Linked DNA regions of Homo sapiens: regions 1, 3, 4, 5, 6 and 7 are each linked to region 2. Evidence: promoter capture Hi-C in 16 types of primary human blood cells and fetal thymus (Javierre and others, 2016). All regions are on one chromosome and are shown on one strand. The core of a region is centred on a gene start or on the middle of the fragment in contact, and the rest is flanking DNA. Distances in the headings are between cores, read along the strand shown. Region 1 holds the start of PNPO (pyridoxamine 5'-phosphate oxidase). Region 2 holds the start of HOXB8 (homeobox B8). Region 3 holds the start of MRPL10 (mitochondrial ribosomal protein L10). Region 4 has its middle 30 kb from the start of MIR10226. Region 5 has its middle 4.9 kb from the start of COPZ2. Region 6 overlaps CDK5RAP3 (CDK5 regulatory subunit associated protein 3). Region 7 holds the start of PRR15L (proline rich 15 like).

Region 1 (2,700 bases), core at 9-2,508, 670 kb after region 2:
TCATCCTCCCAAGTAGCTGGAATTACAGGCACGCTCCAACATGCTCGACTAATTTTAATTTTTTGTAGAGACAGGGTCTCACTATGTTGCCCAGGCTGGAAAAACTGCATTTTAAACAAGCGTTTCTAGAAATGCCCACATGCAACCAGATTTGGCAACCAGGGCCCTGGACCCCAATTCCTAAAAGGTTCTCTTGGTTCCCCTCCTGAGGAGCGAAAAGGAAAAGAACTTCCCAGTGGTCAGCAGAAAGTACTGAAGGCAGTAAGCTAAGAGCTTTCTCCTCCCCTCCTCCCCGAGCTAGTCCCCTTCCCCCATATTCCACTTACTTTTTTGTCAAACAGTTTGTAAGCTGTTTGTCACTGTACCCACCTAAAGAGGGGCCCATGACCATGCCCACCTGGCACAAGGAGGTTTGGGTGACCCCCAAATCTCCTTGCCCCAGGGGGTGGCCCCAGAAGCCCTGAGGGGCTGTTTCCTCCTACTCCCCTCCCCCCAGTAGATGACTCCGAGGACCCCTCTTCCCCCGCCCTTGAGGGAGGCCCAGCACAGTCCTGACATCCATCACATGAAACCCCGATTCATTCATCACTAGCTGTGGGACTGAGCAAGTTATTTGACCTTGCTACCTGTCGAGTAGCAGGGTTCTAAGCACTTTACAAACATCTTAGACCATAACATCCCCGTGAGGCAGATACTATCACTTCCCAGATGAGGAAACTGAGGCCCAGATACATTAAACATTCCAACCCAGGCAGGCTCCAAAGTTCGAGCTCTTACCCATTACGAAAGGCTGCCTTTTGAACCCATCTTCATTTGCGTTTCCCCGGAACTCCTCCCCTGGTGGGATGTCTTTGAAGCCCCCTTTTCCCACGGGGGGTGATCCTCAAACCTCCTTGCCCCACCGGGTGGCCCCAGAAGCCCCGAGGGGCTCCTACTACTCCCCTCCCCGCTGTAGATGACTCCGGGGACCCCTTTTCCCCCGCCCCTGCAGGAGGCCTGGCCCTAGCGGCGGCACCTCTCGGTCCCCGCGGTAACTCTTGCGCATGGGTCCCAGGTCCATGGCAGCACTGCGACCACACAGGTGACTGAGGTAGCCTGGCCACTCGGCAGGTCGCCCGAACGTCGCCGTGACGCCCCGCAGCCAGCACGTCATGGGGGGCCGCCGGCCACGTGACCCGGCTGTGGCCCGGCACTGGGTTCCTTTGAGTTCGGAACCAATTTCTCACCCTGGACTTCTACCCCGGGGAAGGAAGGATTTGCCAGTCGCCCAACCAAGCTAACAGGTCCTAAGTCCTCGGAGCCAATGAGTTTCCAGGATCGGAGGAGGGAGACAGACACGGAGAGGTCATTGGTTGGAGCTTTTCGGTAACGAGGCCAATTAGAGCGAGAACAGAGGAACCCAGCGGCCAATGGGTAGCGCCTTTGGGGGCGGGAGCAGAGAGACAAGGAAATGCTGTCACCGCGGTTAACACGCACGTGGAGGTTGGTTAAAGGTATAGGAGGATCTCTTGCAGCTCAGGCGGGGCGGAGGATGTGTCCCGGGGGCTTGAGGGGAGTAGTCAGTATTAAGTGGCTGGCCCATAGTAGGTGCCTGTAGGTGAGCTTAGGGCAGGAAGTACCCCCTGGGAAGGGAGACTAGTGGAATGGGAAAAGAAAAATGGAAAATGGAATTAGGGGCCAGACTCTGAGGCAAGGTGATGGGGACACATAGAGAAAAGGGTAATCTGGTTGTGGGGAGAAATTAGGGCATGAGAGTGGGAGAGGTTGAAATGACTTGTGGACCATGCCCCGAGTGGGGAGGTGCAGTGGGGTGAGGAAGAGACGGTGAGGTGAGAAGGAAGATGGCTGAATGGGAAGGGGGAAGAAGGAAATTTGGGACCAAGGTATCCCAGACCAGAGTGGTTTTCCTCTTCTAGTTTTGGTTTTGTTTTGTTTTGTTTGAGACGGAGACTAGCTCTGTCGCTCAGGTTGGAGTGCAGTGGCGCGATCTCGGCTCACTGCAACCTCCACCTCCCGGGTTCAAGCAATTCTCTGCCTCAGCCTCCCGGGTAGCTGGGATTACAGGCGCCCGCCACCACGCCCGGCTAAGTTTTGTATTTTTAGTAGAGACGGTGTTTCACCATGTTGGCCAGGCTAGTCTCAAACTCCTGATCTCAAGTGATCTACCCGCCTTGGCCTCCCAAAGTGCCGGGATTATAGGCGTGAGCCACCGCGCCCGCCACCTCTTCTAGTTTTAAACCCCTTCCCTCCAGCCTCATTTATTTAAGCAAGGGTCAGAGCATTTTACTCCCTTTGCTCATGGTTTCCCCTGCCATGGTGCACTGGAGTTCATAGGAGCCAGTGTCCTGGTAGATAGCAAGGCTGCCAATGTCCCATTTCTCCAGGGTCTCCCCAATCTTTGTCAAGCTTCCCTTTTTCCACATTTTGCCCATGCTAGGTAGTAGGAGTCTAGCCCCTAGGTCAATGCAAGCAATTGCCAACTGAGAGTACACTGAGCAGGTGGCTGTGCATAGCCTTTCCAGGCTGTGGATGCAAGGCTGAAAAATGGGAAACCCACTCATGCCCAGTCCAATTCTGAGCTGGCTGGGGCGGCCTTGGGTCGAGACCTCTCTGTAGCCCTGCTTTCCACCAGCATCAGGAAGGGGAACTGCAAGAGCCATCTAGGCAGGCACCCAGGACTGTGCCAGGTAAGGGGAACTT
Region 2 (2,700 bases), core at 150-2,649:
TCTGCAGGCACTGCCTAGGGTGGCTGAGAGCATAGGACAGCGGACACGAAGGCCAGGTGCCAGGGCCTGATACCCAACCTTCTTTCCTTTTGATGCAGTGATGGGCTCAGTGGTCCCCTCTCACCCTTAGGCACTGCAGAAGGTGTGGGGGTCGGCCTGGGAAGGTTGGGAGCTATTAATAATTGGGCTTGGCTACTGGGTCCCAAGGCCTGGGTGCAAGTGTCGGGTAGCCCATTGGGGCTTCATCCCTCTGATGGCATCAGGCCCTCTCCCTTCATGCAAAGTCTGCCCTCAAAAGTGCTGATGGGCTGAAGGGCCTTCAGGAGACCCCCTTTTCAGCAAGCAGAGAGTGCACAAACCTGCAGAATCGGCAGTGGCAGCTCGAACTTTGCTCTGTGCTTCAACCACTGCTCATTAACCAGAAAGTTTCTTCTTCCCTCCCGTTCCCTCCTCAAGATCTCCCAGATCCCTGTTTCACAGAAAATTTTTGCTTATTTGTTTAATGAGAGGAAGTTTTGTGACTGGCCAGGGCAGGGCAGAGAGGGCAGGGCAGAGAAGGGACCTTTTGGGGGCTCCAGAGAAGGGGTGGGGGCAGGTGCTTGCCAGGACGGAAGGAGGTGAAAATCTCAGAAAAGTCACCGTTTGTGCCAAAAAAAAATCCCCATAATCATTCTCATTTCGGCTTCGTCACCCCCACCGTGCTGCAATCGGGCGGCGGGGGCGATCGAAGCTGCAGTTTTATAGCTGTAGAGGAAAGAACTCGTAAAATGCTAACAGCTTTTATGCGCTGCGGCATAAACAACAACAGACTCCGGCTTTATTGCGTTTTATAGTTTCTTAAAGAGTTTACAGCCGTTTTTTGGGGGGCCGGTTATCCAGCCAATTCCCTCCACACGATAGTTAAACCTTTATCAATAATAAGGAAATTGATCATTAAAGCTTTAAATATGACTACCTCGTTTGTTTGAAAATACGTTTAGGAGAGGAAGCTGTATGATTTGATAACTTGTATTAAAATACCAATTACATTTATAGGACCTTTTAAAACTCGGCGCAATTAAACCGTGTTCTTTTACATTTTTCCGAAGCGACCCTGACATTTAGAAAGACTCCAATTGCCTCGTTAAAATCGCGAAATTAACAGCGTGCCTACGCCTGGCGCGTTGTGTATGTGTGTGTGCGTGTTTTTTTCCGTGACTCCCCCACATCAGTCTTTGGGGGTGGTCTGCGAAGGTATTTGATTTGTTGTGAGGCGAGAGATATCTCATTAATGTAGGTAGTTAAACAGATTTAATCCGTATTCATTCTCTCTCACCCCCTCTCCCTCTCCCCCTCTCTCTCCCCCTCTCCCCCTCTCTCTCCCTGGGTGTTTTTTTCTTCCCCTCCTTTTTTTTTTTCCGCTCTCTCCTCACTCCCTGGCGCTCTCTCGCTCTAGCTCTCTCTCTCGCTCGCTCTCTCTCGCTCTCACCCTCGCTCTGCGTTCTGTCCGGGAGGAGTACGAAGAAGCCAATAGGATGCGGGGTCTCTAATGGATGCAAATGATCATGAAAAGACAGTGCAAAATATGAAACAACTCATTTGCAGGGAAGTAAATCACCGAAAACTGTTTATGAACTGGCATCCCTTCTTCGAAATGTAAAGCGAGGACCTCTTTAAGTGGTGGTATATTTTTGTTTGGGGGGTGGGGGGTGGGGGGAGGGCGAGCGAGCCGCGGCTGCCATGCAAGCTTAGACTTTTGGAGGCTTCTCTGTCCTTTTCTATTCCTGGAAACCACAAAAAGTGTGTCGGCTTCGAGATCTTCTTCGCCTTTTCTTTCTTTTCTTTTTTTCCCTCCTCTCTTTCCCTCTCCTTTCCTGGCGAGGGTGACTAGGAGCCGGCGAATCCGCGTTTTTTTCTCTCTCTCCCTCCCTTTCCCCCTCCCCACCCCCTCCCCAACAGCCCCCAACTATAGCCTCCGCCGCCGCCGCCGCCTCAAAATTCAATAAAATGAGCTCTTATTTCGTCAACTCACTGTTCTCCAAATACAAAACCGGGGAGTCCCTGCGCCCCAATTATTATGACTGCGGCTTCGCCCAGGACCTGGGCGGCCGACCCACCGTGGTGTACGGTCCCAGCAGCGGCGGCAGCTTCCAGCACCCGTCGCAAATCCAGGAGTTCTACCACGGGCCGTCGTCGCTGTCCACGGCTCCCTACCAGCAGAACCCGTGCGCCGTGGCGTGCCACGGGGACCCCGGCAATTTCTACGGCTACGACCCGCTGCAACGCCAGAGCCTATTCGGTGCGCAGGATCCAGACCTGGTGCAGTACGCAGACTGCAAGCTTGCCGCCGCCAGCGGCCTGGGCGAGGAGGCCGAGGGCTCCGAGCAGAGCCCGTCGCCCACACAGCTCTTCCCCTGGATGCGCCCGCAAGGTGAGCTCGCCTCGGGGCCGACAAGGGCAGGAGGGGGCCGGAAGGGCCCAAGGCCTGGCAGGCCGGGGCGCATTTCCTCCAGCTTCTGGAAGACTTGCCGGCTCCGTTCCGATCGCCTGCCGCTTTTCCCCTTTCTTTCTTATCTTTCTTTCTTCTTTCTTTTTTCTTTCCCTTGAAGGGGGTCGCTTAGAAACATTTCCTGAATCTATAAACCCCTCATCCTGCCTTACTTTTCTTCTTCTTCTCCTCCTTTTTTTCCCCTTTTACTGTTTTATGGGGGGTAGTGAAGA
Region 3 (2,700 bases), core at 23-2,522, 780 kb after region 2:
AAGGATCACTTTGGCTACTCAGGAGGCTGAAGTGGGAGGATTGTTTGAGGAGTTCAAGACCAGTCTGGCCAACAGAGCAAGACCCCATCTCTAAAAAAGTAATTAAAAATACTTTACTTTTTGTTTGTTTTAGAAATAGGGTCTCACCCTGTTGCCCAGGCTGGCATGCAATGGCATGATCATAGCTTACTGCAGCCACAGGTACCTGGGTTCAAGTGATCCTCCTGTCTCAGCCACCTAGGACTACAGGTGTGCACCACCATGCTCAGCTAGTTTATTTTTATTTTTTAGAGATAGGATTCTGTCTCTATTGCCCAGGCTGGTCTCAAACTCCTGGGCTCAAGTGATCCTCCTGCCTCAGCCTCCCAAAGTGGTGGGTGTGTAGGAGAGAGGTGAACACGGCCTTATCTAAGACAGTTGAGTGAGGATGGTGAAAAAGAAATGGAATTATTTTGAAGAAGGGAAAATCAGCTGGGCATTACCACTGATTGAATGTGTGGAGTAAGGAGAGAAACAAAGATCAGTTGACAAATCAGTACACGTCAGGGACCTGGTCATCCTGAGTGTTTCAGCCTTCTAGCACCCCTTTTCTCCCCCATGCACTCACATCTTCTCTGACAGTTCCCCATCTTCAGGGAAAGTCAAGTTCCGCTTAGTGATAAGGGCTTCAGTGATGCAGACGCCCCCTTCCTCTGGACCCTGGGCTGACTTCCCTGTGAAAAGATGAGTCCAACTGTGACACTTCCTCACTCTTGGAGGCCTTACCCCGCTGTTTTCCAACTGCTCTACCCACCGTCCCACCTCCCTACTCACCTCCAGACATGATCTAAAATAAAAGGCTGCTGGTCTGAGGCGGGAGAGGAACGAAAAGAGAGGTCTTGGCGGCCCCTAAGGATGGCAGAACTCAGGATGGCAGGAGGAGAGAGAAACTCAGAGACTTAGGAGAGGAGGAAAGGGGGTTGATTCAGAGAAAATTGCTGGGGTGAGGTCGAAGAAAACAGTAAATTGATGTGAAGGGTCTGGAGTTTGAGGGGTGTGGAGGGGCTTTGCTGGCAGCAAGCTGGGGTGTTGTGGGCAGGAATGGTTGAGAAAGGAGCAGTTCCTAGGAAGCCGGAGTCGTTGCTAAGAGACTGGACGCCGAGTGGGGAGGTAAAGGCGGGCTCCGTTGGCCCGGCCTAGCGCATGCGTCTTACGGCTACAGCCGGCGGGTACGCCCACTGCTTCCGGCCCCGGGGTTCGCTACCCCACAATCCTTAGCTCTTTCCGTCTCCACTCGGCTTCCGTCCATTCTTCCGGTGGAGATGGCTGCGGCCGTGGCGGGGATGCTGCGAGGGGGTCTCCTGCCCCAGGCGGGTAAGGAGTGGCCCAGGTCCTCACGGCGTGTCTTGCGGCCGCTCTCTAGTCCTCATCTGCCCTCCTCTACTACTGATTCTTCCCATAATCTCTGACCCCAGCTAGATCGCTGGCCTCCTTACCCCGTCCAGTTCCTTGTGACTCGACTGGTAATCACAGCAACAACGTCCAGATGTTGTCTGTCTCCAGCGTTTCTTTTGCCTGGACCACTCCTCGCCCAGACCTTTGCATTATGTCTCCATCTTAATGTGTCAGTCTAAATGTCACCTCAGGTCTTCCCTTGACTCCTTAGCCCCGTCGCAATCTGTAATTTTGCATTTGTTTAGTTGCTTGTTTCCTCTATTAAACTCCGCAAGGGCAGAACCATGTTCATTCAGCATAGCCAGCAGGTGGCATGGTGCTGGATGTTAGTAAGCGTGCGGTAGATATTTGTTTAGTGAATGGATTTGAGCACTTAATATAGGCCAGGCACTGTGATAACTATTTTTATATGTGTTAGCTCATTTAAATCTTTTAAATCATTTAAATCTAAAGCACCCTGTGAGAAAGACATTCGCATCTCCTCTTTACAGACGCAGCAACTGAAGTTCAGACCAGTTGGGTGGCCAAGGTCACAGCTAGTAATTGGCGGAAGAGAGATTAAAATCCAGTTTCGGCTGGGCGCGGTGGCTCACGCTTGTAATCCCAGCACTTTGGGAGGCTGAGGCGGAGGGAACACCTGAGGTCAAGAATTTGAGACCAGCTTGGCCAACATGGCGAAACCCCAACTCTACTAAAAATACAAAAATGAGCCGGGTGTGGTGGCGCGTGCCTGTAGTCCCCGCTACTCAGGAGGCTGAGGCGTGAGAATCGCTTACACCCAGGAGGCAGAGGTTGCAGTGGGCCGAGATCGCATTGCTGCACTCCAGCCTGGGCAACAGAGCGAGACTCCATCTCAAAAAAAAAAAAAATCCAGTTTAATTTGATTCCAAAGCCTGCCTGCAGTCTTAACAGTTAGGTTTTGTGGCTGCTGGCAATAAGACCTCTTACCCCAGCAAATATCCATACTCTCTGACTGTTAGAGCCGCCTTCTATCTGGACCTTTTTCTGAGGTCACATCCCAGTCTTGGAAATGACTGAAAGTGGGAAGTTCTAGTCTTGGCCCTTGTGTTGAGGATTAAGTGGTCACTTTGTCTCAGGGCTTTTGAGTGCCTCCCTTGTTTTCTGTGGGGTGCTCTGTAGCATTATCTGTAAACAGGAAGAGAGGAGGAAAGAGAAACTTGTCTGAGAGCTGTGAGAATGGTGTAACATTTTTTTCTCCTCTTCAAATCATAGGACAGGGTGTCAGAGCAGCGGTTAGAGTGGTGG
Region 4 (2,700 bases), core at 32-2,531, 610 kb after region 2:
GGGGTCTCATCATGTTGCCCAGTCTGGTCTCGAACTCCTGGGCTCAAGCTATCTGCCCACCTTGGCCTCCCAAAGTGCTGGGATTACAGGCATGAGCTACTGTGCCCAGCCTCGGGTATCTCATGCAGTATTGAAGGAAACAGACCTGGCTTTGAATCCTAGTTCTATCAGTTGCAAGCTCTGTGACCTTGGATAAGTGGCAAAATCTCTCAGAGGATCCATTATTCCACTTGTGAAATGGGAATAATTATACCCATTCACACAATTTTTGTAAAAATTCAACAAAATAATGCATGTAAAGCTCTTAGCCAATGACTGGCAAAGTAAGTGCTCAAAAGATGGCAACTACTGCTCCTAGGGCTCACCTTTGTTTGTGCTAAGTGGATGAAGCAAAAGGAGATGGCAGGGGTTAAGGGAAACACACCAGAAAGGAGGCTCACAGAGGAGATGCTGAAAGGGATGGATTTGGTTAATGTAGGACAGATGGCGGAGAAGGAGGAAGAAGACGGGGAGAAGGAAAGGGGAAGGAAAAGGCTCATTGGAGACTAGCCTGGCAGAGTAAGAGAGAAAGTTGGGATGCACAGAACAAGACAGAGCACGGGAAAGGGATGGACAAAGAGCAGATGGGAGAGGAAGACAGAATGACAAAGACGCGGAGGGCGGGGGAAACCCAGCTGGTGTGAAACAGACAAGAGGTGCTGGAGAAGACAGAAGAAAAAGAGAAAACCAAGGGGTGGGGGGCGGTGTCAAAATGAGACAGGGAAGCAGGGGCAGGACAGACAGACTGAGAGCGAGTTGGGAAAGCACAAGACGGACAGACAGATGGCAGGGACAAGAGGGTGCCCTGGGTTGCCTGCATTCTGCTGTGTTTACCAGCTAATTGAGTTAAATTGTTGTCAGAGATGTAATTAAAGGGTAGAGAGAGCTCTCTGGCAGGCCCGAAACAGATGGAGGGGGCTTTAATTGGTAATTAAATTCTTCCCTGGCAGCTGAGGAAGGAGCTTGTGCTTCAGTCTCACAAGGCCACGGGTGGCCTTCCCCCCACTCCTGGCCCCTCTCAGGGGCTCTTTGGGGAGGGGGCTGGGCCCTGCGCACCAGCAGCCCGGCAGGCGGCGAGGCCTGGTAACTGCAGGAGAATGAATGCCAAAGCGACCCTTCTTCCCTGCTGGGGCTGGCTCAGCTCCCATGAGCGAATCCAAGCACACCCACCCCCGCGCCTGCTCCTCCCCAACCTCCCCACCCTCACCCACCAAACTAGCATTGACCGATGAATTCCTACGTGGCCCCCATTGCTTCACTTGGGATCCCAGGGAAGAATAGTGGGGCTCTGGCCCTGCAGCCTGATCAGCTTGGGAAGAGTTAGTTGGTTTAGTCAGGGACCCAGGCAGACCCATCTCTTGGCATGGCTCCCACGAGTCTGTCAGCATCTGCCCCCCTCCCCCTTCCAGGAGACGCTGTGCAGAGATTCTATTCTGCGTGGCACATCACTGTCTGGCGCTGACTCTGCTTCCATCCTTCTCCACCCCCTGCCCTCACCCCCACAGCAGCAAATAAGACAGGGATGGGATCAGTCACCCTGATGGGCAGATAGATTGGTTAGATGCTCTAAGATGTGGGCATTCAGACTAATCAGCTTTCAATTCCAAATCTCAATTTGACCTTAATTTCATTGGAGAAGGACCCTTGGGATGGCAGATTTCCCTGAAACCCACAAATTCTAGACGTGATCCATTTCAAAGAAAGAGATAAGTAAAAAGAGAGCACAGAGGCAAGGCTTTTTAAAAGAAGGCTGAACAGGAAGTTAGGCAGAAAGAAAATCCAGGGCAGACATTGTGGGATTATTGTAAAATGCATGGCTGACTATGAGTCAGCAATACAGTGCTATTCTTACAAAAGCAAGCTGCATGCCGGATGCATAAATAAGGAACCTGGGGGTCATTCTCATTATATCTCAGCTGATCAGACAAAAGTTCTTTGTCTTGCTCTGGACTCCAGGGAGCCTAGAGAGTCACAGGCGAGTTTCAAGGGGTTTCTGGGAGAACTGTAGAAATGACAGAAGGATTTGTGAGGCAGAGTGCCCGACTGTATGAATTTTCACTCAGTTTGTCAAGCATTCTCTGTTTTTTTGCCTTCAGCCCCACATATGCTGGTCTTTCTGCCAGGATCTTTGCTCTCCACCCTCCCTTCCACATCCTTGGACTAACTGCTACTTATCCTAAGTCCGCAAATTAGCACTCCTTTCCTTCTTTCCCCTCCCTCCCTTCCTTCCTTCCTTCCTTCCAGTTGAGTCTCACTCTCTTGCTACATGCTGGAAAGCAGTGGTACAAACACCACTCACTGCACCCTCCACCTCCCAGGCTAAAGCAATTCTCTTGCCTCAGCCTCCTGAGTAGCTGGGATTACAGGCACACGCCACCACACCCAGCTATTTATTTTATTTTATTTTATTTTATTGTAGAGATGGGGTTTTGCTATGTTGCCTAGGTTGGTCTCAAATCCCTGGGCTCAAGGGATCCGCCTGCCTCGGCCTCCCAAAATGCTGGGATTACAGGCATGAGCCACCATACCCGACCCTTCATTTCTTCAGGAGGCTTTGCCCCACCCCATCTTACCATCCCAACATCTGCCCTAGCCTGACATCCTGACATGCTATTTTTTTTATTATTATTTTTTAGAGATGAGGGTCTCGCTGTGTCGCCC
Region 5 (2,700 bases), core at 1-2,500, 570 kb after region 2:
TAGGGTGTGCTCATTCTCAACCCTAAAATGTTCTTTCTTCACCTCTACAATGAAAATGCCTCATTGTTCATTAGTGTCTTAGTGTAACATTTTTTGAAGCTGAGTTCAACTGTCCTGTATGTCTTGCTATGTTGTCTCAAACAATACCAGGTAGTGTTCTTCATATAGCTCTGTGTGACATGTCACACTCAAGGAGCTGCCATTAAGAGGTAGGAGGAGTGGATGTTTTGGACTCATAGGTGGGTTCGAAAATCTGGCTCTGTTTCTTACTAGTTGGGCCATCCCGAGCTAAATGGAGATAACAATGTACATATTCATAAATCTTAAAAATCAGGTCATGTGTATAAAGCCATTCATGCCTGGAGGAAGAGCTGAGTATAAGGCCCTGTCTTGAATAATCCTCTCTCCACCCACCCTACAACTTTATCTCAGAGAAAGCCAAAGGCGATGAAGAAATGAGAGCTGTCCTTAGAATGGTCTACTAGAAACCCATCCTACAGACAGAGCATGGAAGCTTTAGTTTTCTCTAGAGGATGCCACCAGTACACACTTCCACGCCTCATATTCCACACACACCTCCCCCTCTTGACATTAAGCAGGAGGGATAGAGAGAGGCTGGTACCCAAGGGAGCTGTTTCTTCTCGTCACATAAGAACAGATGCTGAAATCCTAGGACAGACAGCACAGAAATGTGGCAGCAGGAGGGTGACTCAGAGGAAATGAAATGGTCTCCCCTTCAAGCTATACCAAGGCCCAGAGGAGAACCTGCTTTGAATCACCTGCCTCCTGGGACTCCAAAGGGCAGGGACCAATTCTGAGTGCACTACTTCACAGGTTCCAGCTGGGTAGGGATGTGCACAGCCCACCTCTCCATCCTACTGTGCCTACCCGAAGGGAGTAGAGGGCAGAGAAACATGAAGGCTGCATTCTTTTTGAACCCAACTTGGCTTCCTCGAGCTGGGGAGGCTCTCCTGCCGAGTCTGCTGCTGCACGTGCATGCTTCTCATGTGCTGCCAGCCTTAAACTGGAAAGTCCTCTTAGGGCCATGCTCTGTGGAAGACACTGTCCCAATACTGGACACACATAGCTCACATGTTTATGTGAAACTGCATTAAAGGTGCACTTCAGGATGTGTGGGGAAGCGGTTGTCATGGAGAGAAAGAAGTTCTGGGGTCTCTGTTGAAGGAGTTTGGGGAGGGGTTATCATTGGGGAGAATCTTGTCCTTGAAAAGTTGAACTTGGCTCTGAATTTACTTATTCACCACTAAACTAAGATGTAAAGAGATTTTATGGGCCAGGCACGGTGGCTTACGCCTATAATCCCAGCACTTTGGGAGGCCAAGGTGGGCAGATCACTTAAGGTCAGGAGTTGGAGAACAACCTGGCTAACATGGTGAAACCCCGTCTCTACTAAAAATACAAAAATTAGCCGGGCATGGTGGCACGCACCTGTAATCCCTGCTACTTGGGAGGCTGAGGCAGGAGAATTGCTTGAACCCGGGAGGCAGAGGTTGCAGTGAGCCGAGATCGTGCTACTGCACTCCAGCCTGGGCGACAGAGTGAGACTCCATTTCAAAAAAAAGAAAAGATGTAAAGAGATTTTAAGAAGAGGAACAACAAGGCCAGGCGCGGTGGTTCACGCCTGTAATCCCAGCACTTTGGGAGGCCAAGGCAGGCGGATCACCTGAGGTCAGGAGTTCAAGACCAGCCAAACAACATAGTGAAACCCTGTCTCTACTAAAAATAAAAAAAATTAGCTGGGTGTGGTGGCGCATACCTGTAATCCCAGCTACTCAGGAGACTGAGACAGGAGAATCGCCTGAACCTGGGAGGCGGAGATTGCAGTGAGCCAATATCACCCCATTGCACTCCAGCCTGGGCAACAAGAGTGAAACTCCTTCTCAAAAAAAAGAAAAAAAGAAAAAGAAAAAGCAACAACAGTGATAGATGTGGGGGTGATGAGAACTTTGTGGTTCCTAAGCTTCCTTCCCCAGCCTTCTCTCATTCCTATCCCCTTGGCCCCTCTCCAGTGCCTTCCCATCCCTAACGTGTATAACTGACTCCTTCCCCACCTCCCCTATGGAGCCAGCCCCCTAAGTCCCCTATCTTCCCAGGTCTTCCTCTGTCCCTTCTGGAGGCTGCTGGTCTTTCATAGTGGGTACCATAGCCAAACAGAGGCTGAGAAATGCTCCTGGAGGCTTTTTGGTGCTGTCCTTGTAAATATGAGCCAAAAAAAAAAAAAAAATGGACTAGCTCACAGAAATATTAAGACATCAAAATAACCAAATCAGTATTTTTTAGAAATAACATACCCAGCCAGCATGACCATTGACATAACTTCTGATGATCTGGAATCCGAAGAAATAAAATGCCCAAATGCTGGGTCTTTTCCCTGGCTGCTGTTATCAAATAGTGTCATTATGTTCCCTATTATAACTGATAGCCTGCAAGAAAGGTTCAGATGTGCCTTCTAAGTCATCATATAGGGAGGGTCAGTAGATGCTTCCTCAGATGTCTGCATGGCCTGCTTCCTCCTTTCCTTTAGCTCTTTGTTCAAATGTCACCTTGTTAAAGGTTTTCTCAGAGGACTATGAAAATGGCTTTCTGGCTTGCCTGTCCCTTACCCCTCACATTCCACATCCCATTTCTGCTCTATTTTTCTTTGCAGCACTTATCCCCAACTCATATAATATCTACTTT
Region 6 (2,700 bases), core at 17-2,516, 640 kb after region 2:
CTTACCCTGGGTTCCTGCTTCCAGCACTGTGATCTGCAAAGCAACAGCATCGTCTCCCCAGTCTATCCCATCACCTCCAGGATCCTGGAAGGAGAGCAAAGAACCACAGCAATGGGGGGAGAATTTTCCTGAGCCAAGGAGCCAGAATAAACCAAAGCCCTTGATGAGGTCAATGGCTGCACATTCCAACTCTATTAAGGATTTGCAGCCCTGACTTAGGTGCCAAAAATGGCAGTATGGCCCATCATCCCTGCTCTGTAGTGTTCCCACCTGCCTTTACCCCTACACCCTGTACCAAACACCAAGAAAAAGGACATCAAAATTTAACTCTCACATGGGCTGGGCGCAGTGGCTCACGCTTGTAATCCCAGCACCTCAGGAGGCCGAGGCAGGTGGATCACCTGAGGTCAGGAGTTACCAGCATGGCCAACACGGCGAAACCCTGTCTCTATTAAAAATACAAAAATTAGCCGGGCGCGGTGGCTCACGCCTGTAATCCCAGCACTTTGGGAGGCTGAGGCGGGCGGATCACGAGGTCAGGAGATCGAGACCATCTGGCTAACATGGTGAAACCCCATCTCTACTAAAAATACAAAACAATTAGCCGGGCGTGGTGGCGGGCGCCTGTAGTCCCAGCTACTCAGGAGGCTGAGGCAGGAGAATGGCGTGAACCCGGGAGGCAGAGGTTGCAGTGAGCCAAGATGATGCCACTGCACTCCAGCCTGGGCGACAGAGTGAGACTCTGTCTCAACAAACAAACAAACAAAATAAAAAATTAGAGGGGTGTGGTGGTGGGCGCCTATAATCACAGCTACTTGGGAGGCTGAGGCAGGAGAATCACTTGAACCTGGGAGGCGGAAGTTGCAGTGAGCCGAGATTGCACCACTGCACTCCAGCCTGGGCGACAGAATGAGACTCTGTCTCAAAAAACAAAACAAAACTCTGACATGTGACGTGTGAAACTCTGCCTCCCTTGGACTATACCTGGTCTTAGAGCTATGAACTTCAAGTGATGCCGTTACAGACACAAATGACACTTTTCTTATGGTTAGAGTAGTGATCAGAGAGAGACAGACTGAGAAGGCCTCCTCACCTTTGAATCTGATTCCGGGAAGATGCCCCAGTCGATTCCAGCAGCCTCGGCAGAGATGCCAGAGTCAGTCCCCTCAGACACTGCCTCTACCCCAAAGTCGCCCCAGTCAATCTGGAAAGGGAAAGAGAGTGTTAGCTCATGGAAGATGGATTTAAAAAGGGCCGGGCATGGTGGCTCATGTCTGTAACCCCAGTACTTTGGGAGGCCGAGGATAGTGGATTGCTTGAGCCCAGGAGTTTGAGACCAGCCTGGGCAATATGGCAAAATCCTGTCCCTACAAAGATGTTAATAAAAAATTAGCTAGGAGTGGTGGTGCAAACCTGTAATCCCAGCTATCTTGGAGGCTGACTTGGGAGGATCGCTTGAGGCTGAGAGGCAGAGGTTGCAGTCAGCAAGGATCATGCCACTGCACTCCAGCCTGGGCAACAGAGCAAGGCCCAGTCTCAAAAATAAATTAATTTAAAAAGGAGGGTGGGGCTGCCTTCCCACAGGCCTCAGCTGCTTCTGTAGAGAGCACACTGTTCAAATGCAGTGGCCTCTAAGCTACCCCAAAGAAAGCCCATCTTCAGAGAGCTCACATGATGGAGGTTCCGAGTTCAAAGCGAACCACCTTGCAAAGCCTCTGTGGCACTCACTCACCTATACTCAGAAAAATAAAGGAGTAGGGCCTCCTGGGCCCTTCTACCTACAGTCACTCTCACAGAAATCCTCCCTTCTTCTCTCTGGGTCTTGGGTTGGGCTGTTGGGGGTGGGGAGGGGACAAGCAGCTCCCACTCCACTCCTACAGCTCATCACAAGGCCCATCTTACCGCATCTTCTGCCACCTGCTCAGGAAGCTCCTCGAGGTGGGGTCGTTCCACCACAGAGGGCTCTGTCCCTGTCCTCCACTCGTACACCGTTGAGTTTCCCCGCTTCTGCACGAACCGCAGCATTGGCAACACCTGCTCTGTGGGGCTTCAACAGAGCACACAACTGACTCTCCTGCCGACCATGCGTAAGGCCAACACTGGGCTTTGGCCTGGGCCACATGGTCAAATGGGCAAGGCCCCCACAGGTTCAGGTGTGTAAAGAGTTCAAATGTTATATGGGAACAAGACAACTGGAGAAGGGTCATGAGCTGGGGAACACAGGCAAAGCACCCCCACCAGGAGAAGCTGAGGCCTCTCTACCTCTCACACACAAACCCCACAGACGCCTGGTACACGTCAATGGCTTCCCCCAGGGACTGCTGAGCCGCTGCCCCAATCTCAGCCAGCTGACTCGGCAGGTCCTTCACCAGGGCCAGCAGTTCTCCTCGGACATTTTCGCCCTAGAGAGGGGAGAAGAGGTGGAGTCCAACAGATTGAAGAAAACATCCAAAGACCGAAGAAAAGTAAGACACTGGCCCAAAGGGGGTGCAACCAGGCTGAGGGGTCAGACGGGGTCAGAGGAAGACAAGCAGGGGCCCAGGTGTCCTCTGGCTGCGAAGAGGCTGCCGCCGCTCACCGTGATGCCATACTGCTTGCAGGAGTGGTAGAACTGCTCCCGCATCTCGGCAGCCCCTGCCTGGCACTCCTCCTCCTTGCGGCTGTATTCTTGCTGCAGCTGCTGGCACTTGGCAATCTGCT
Region 7 (2,700 bases), core at 34-2,533, 660 kb after region 2:
GGTCCATGGAGGAAGGTAGCTGGTGGGTGGATTGGGCACCTAAGCTGGTAGCACTGGGCCCAGGAAGTGGCAGAGACACTGAGTATGTAGCAGATGTTTTCCACTCTCCAGCGATGCCCATCCGAGGGGAGAGAGAATGCAAGCGCAAATAGGACAGGCCACCTCCGGGTGGCTGCAAAACAACGCTCCCCAGACACGGAGCCATCTGCAAGAGCAGCCCTGGCTGAGCGCTGCACACAGCTTGGCCAATGGTGGGTTTGCAGGGGCAATGAGACTGCAGATCGGTGAGGACGAAGGCCCCTGTGCACACACACTCTACCCCTGTCCCCAACCGTGTGCCCATCCCCTGCCTTCTTGCCCTTCCTTCTCTTCCAGACTCACTAGGGACCCATCTCTCCTTTCCTTGAGAACTTGCTCCAGGTTTTGCCAACTTTATAATACCCAGGAAGGCCCTTTCAATAGACTGCTGGACATCTGGGAGGAGTTGAAGCCAGTGGCACTTTGCTAGTGGGGACACTGGCACAGGTCTCTTTGAGAGTCTGATAAAAGTATAATCTATGCAGAAAAAGCAATGCCCCTCTGCCCACAAACACGGAATTCTGCATAAGATCTCAAGGGCCTTGAAGCCCACCTCCAAGCAAAGTGGGAGAGGGATGACAATGTTTGAGGTTGTGGTGGGTCTGGAGAGCCTGGCCCGAGGAGAGGCTGTGCCCTTTTTTTTTTTCTCCCTAGGGAGATTTTTGAAGAGGGGCTCTTCAGGTCAGGAGGAAGCCACAGCCCCCAACCCAGTCCCCACTTTGAGGCTTGAGGCAGGGGAGGGACAGCCTGGGAACCGGTCTGCCAACCAGTTTAACCGGGACTGGTTTCGACTCAGGGAGTTCAAAGGAAGCTGGGGTGCACCCCGTCCTACCCAGCCTGCCAATGGAAGCAGCAGCCCTTAACTCTTTCCTGGTTGTGCCCTGGGCAACATCCAGGTGGTGGTCCATGCTGGAGAGGGGTCTGCGCCTCCTCAGAAGATGAAATGGGTGGGGTGACCCTGGCTATAGCTGGGAAGTGCAACCAGACACCCAAGAGTGGGGAAACTGAGCGAGAGCCTCCTGTGCTCCCTGACCCCAGATCTCCCTTGGGATTCCCTCCTCCTGCGTGGCGGTCCCTGGAGAACCCTGGCTTCTGGGTGGATGCAGGGGCGCTGGGATTGGATTTCTGGCATGATGAATATTCATCAGCTTGAGCCGGCCTCTGCTTCTGTTTACTTAGCCGGGAGGGGCTGGGTTTCAGGTTCACCTTGACTCCAGGAGCTGCAGCAGAGCAGGTAACAGCTCTTGCACCTGTTTCTCTTGCACCTGACGTGCAGCTGCTCCTACCCACCTCTCCTGGCTGAGCCTTGCCTGATACAGCAGCCCGGAGGCACCACTTGCTTCCCGAGTCTCACCCTCCCAGGCAGCTCCTACACTCAACTGCTTCTCTAGGAAAGGTCTCACCTCCAGCCTGGAGCAGTCGGGATTACAGGTACAGGCAGAGGGCTGGTGGGTGGGGAAACCAAGGCATAGACCCCAGTCAGAGCACCTGGTTCTGCCTCCAGGGCTGACAAGCCCAGCAGGAAAGAGGAACCCAGGCCTCTAACCTGGTCTCCACTCAAGACTCATCCCACTGGCCTCTTGGAGTCAATCCAGGCCTCCAACAGAGCTCCTGCTGAGTAGTTTTCTGTTAACCCTTGCTGAACTGGAGCCCACCCTTCTGACCCCCCAGTCTGGAGCATTTTTCCAGCTGTCTGGTAGGAACATCTCCCCATTCCTATCCAGGGTACCCCTGTCTCATCCTGCAGGCCCCCTAAGTGCCATTGGGGCCCTGCAGAGGGATGGGGGAGGGAGTTCTGGGGTTTTGTCTTACAACATATTAGCTGACTTGCTTCCCCTATCTGTCCCCCTGCCCCTCCACCTCTGCCCCAGTCAATGGTTAACTTGACCCAGCTCAGGAGGGGCCTGGCTCAGTCTGGGCAAAGCCCTTCAGAGCAGCTCACAGAACCCAGCTGGTATGGAGGGGCCTCTCCTGGGACACCCATGTGCATGCTATAGCGCTGGCCACCAAAGACAGGGGGTGGCAGGCTGTCCCATGAGGCCTTTCATGGCCCCAAAGCTGTGCAAACAGCAGAGGTGAAGCTGGCATCCTCAGGGGCTGATTTCCATCATCCCTGGATTGCAAGGCCCCAGGGCAAGGGCCCAGCCCTTAGCTCGGCCAGCTCAGGAACCTGCACGAGCTAACTGCAGGGCCCACCATGTGTCACTAAATGCTGGGTCTGTTTGAAGTCCCAAGCACCTGCCCCCACTCCCCCAACCCCTTTCAGCCCTCTGTGGTGAGGCACAGGCAGGCGGTTGTAGATATCTTGTTCTTTGCAACTTTGAGAAACTGGGAAGTTTGGATATCACATCACCTTTTTTGTTTGCTTGTTTTTAAAGCAAATCAGATTTTACACTATCTTTTATGATGACTATTTACAGATCCTACAGCTGGGTTATTTTGTAAAACAAAGAATAGTCGGCTAATTTTTCCATTTTGCAAACTCAGATTTCCATAAGTCAGGCTTGCTAATGGGGCAAACACCTGCTTACTGGTCCCCACATGTCCTCCTGGGCAGAAGAGACAGGAAGGCCTGGCAAAAAGGGTATTCTCTTTTTTTGTTGTTGTTGTTTTTTGAGAAAA

Evidence for each region. Contacts are between HindIII fragments. The CHiCAGO score rates a contact against its expected background, and 5 or more counts as called.
Region 1: a contact is called between the fragment with the promoter of PNPO here and the fragment with the promoter of HOXB8 in region 2, in 5 of 17 cell types (neutrophils, naive CD4 T cells, total CD8 T cells and 2 more). The highest score is 10.1, in neutrophils.
Region 3: the fragment with the promoter of MRPL10 here is called in contact with the fragment with the promoter of HOXB8 in region 2 in 8 of 17 cell types (activated CD4 T cells, total CD8 T cells, neutrophils and 5 more); the score reaches 10.9 in activated CD4 T cells.
Region 4: a contact is called between a fragment that was not itself captured here and the fragment with the promoter of HOXB8 in region 2, in 1 of 17 cell types (neutrophils). The highest score is 5.6, in neutrophils.
Region 5: a contact is called between a fragment that was not itself captured here and the fragment with the promoter of HOXB8 in region 2, in 2 of 17 cell types (total CD4 T cells and total CD8 T cells). The highest score is 6.1, in total CD4 T cells.
Region 6: a contact is called between a fragment that was not itself captured here and the fragment with the promoter of HOXB8 in region 2, in 1 of 17 cell types (total CD8 T cells). The highest score is 5.4, in total CD8 T cells.
Region 7: a contact is called between the fragment with the promoter of PRR15L here and the fragment with the promoter of HOXB8 in region 2, in 1 of 17 cell types (neutrophils). The highest score is 7.9, in neutrophils.

What each region holds. Positions count from the first base shown.
Region 1 is chr17:47,940,129-47,942,828 of GRCh38, reverse strand. PNPO (pyridoxamine 5'-phosphate oxidase) reads right to left here and starts at 1,258. Exons shown (of 7, transcript NM_018129.4): 1 at 1,016-1,258. The coding sequence starts at 1,153. It overlaps SP2-AS1 (SP2 antisense RNA 1), which reads left to right and starts at 1,425. Exons shown (of 3, transcript NR_103857.1): 1 at 1,425-1,482. RefSeq lists an enhancer at 1,212-1,506. The HindIII fragment of the contact is 3,059 bases long and covers 1-2,408 here.
Region 2 is chr17:48,613,991-48,616,690 of GRCh38, reverse strand. HOXB8 (homeobox B8) reads left to right here and starts at 1,399. Exons shown (of 2, transcript NM_024016.4): 1 at 1,399-2,410. The coding sequence starts at 1,987. The HindIII fragment of the contact is 787 bases long and covers 942-1,728 here.
Region 3 is chr17:47,830,113-47,832,812 of GRCh38, reverse strand. It overlaps MRPL10 (mitochondrial ribosomal protein L10), which reads left to right and starts at 1,272. Exons shown (of 5, transcript NM_145255.4): 1 at 1,272-1,353. The coding sequence starts at 1,302. It overlaps LRRC46 (leucine rich repeat containing 46), which reads right to left and starts at 1,143. Exons shown (of 8, transcript NM_033413.4): 1 at 814-1,143; 2 at 608-713. The coding sequence starts at 823. RefSeq lists silencers at 1,107-1,266, 1,507-1,566 and enhancers at 1,029-1,858, 1,859-2,690. The HindIII fragment of the contact is 9,003 bases long and covers 1-2,700 here.
Region 4 is chr17:48,001,962-48,004,661 of GRCh38, reverse strand. No RefSeq gene overlaps it. Among named protein-coding and RNA genes, the nearest start is that of MIR10226, 30 kb to the left of the region's middle. RefSeq lists a silencer at 985-1,279 and an enhancer at 1,020-1,574. The HindIII fragment of the contact is 5,978 bases long and covers 1-2,700 here.
Region 5 is chr17:48,041,354-48,044,053 of GRCh38, reverse strand. It overlaps a transcript of COPZ2 not described here. Among named protein-coding and RNA genes, the nearest start is that of COPZ2, 4.9 kb to the right of the region's middle. The HindIII fragment of the contact is 1,467 bases long and covers 517-1,983 here.
Region 6 is chr17:47,975,216-47,977,915 of GRCh38, reverse strand. It overlaps CDK5RAP3 (CDK5 regulatory subunit associated protein 3), which reads right to left. Exons shown (of 14, transcript NM_176096.3): 6 at 2,579-2,700; 7 at 2,263-2,402; 8 at 1,903-2,047; 9 at 1,094-1,204; 10 at 6-84. Among named protein-coding and RNA genes, the nearest start is that of CDK5RAP3, 5.5 kb to the right of the region's middle. RefSeq lists an enhancer at 2,017-2,517. The HindIII fragment of the contact is 8,194 bases long and covers 1-2,700 here.
Region 7 is chr17:47,956,466-47,959,165 of GRCh38, reverse strand. PRR15L (proline rich 15 like) reads left to right here and starts at 1,283. Exons shown (of 2, transcript NM_024320.4): 1 at 1,283-1,509. RefSeq lists enhancers at 724-1,669, 1,670-2,615. The HindIII fragment of the contact is 8,015 bases long and covers 1-2,700 here.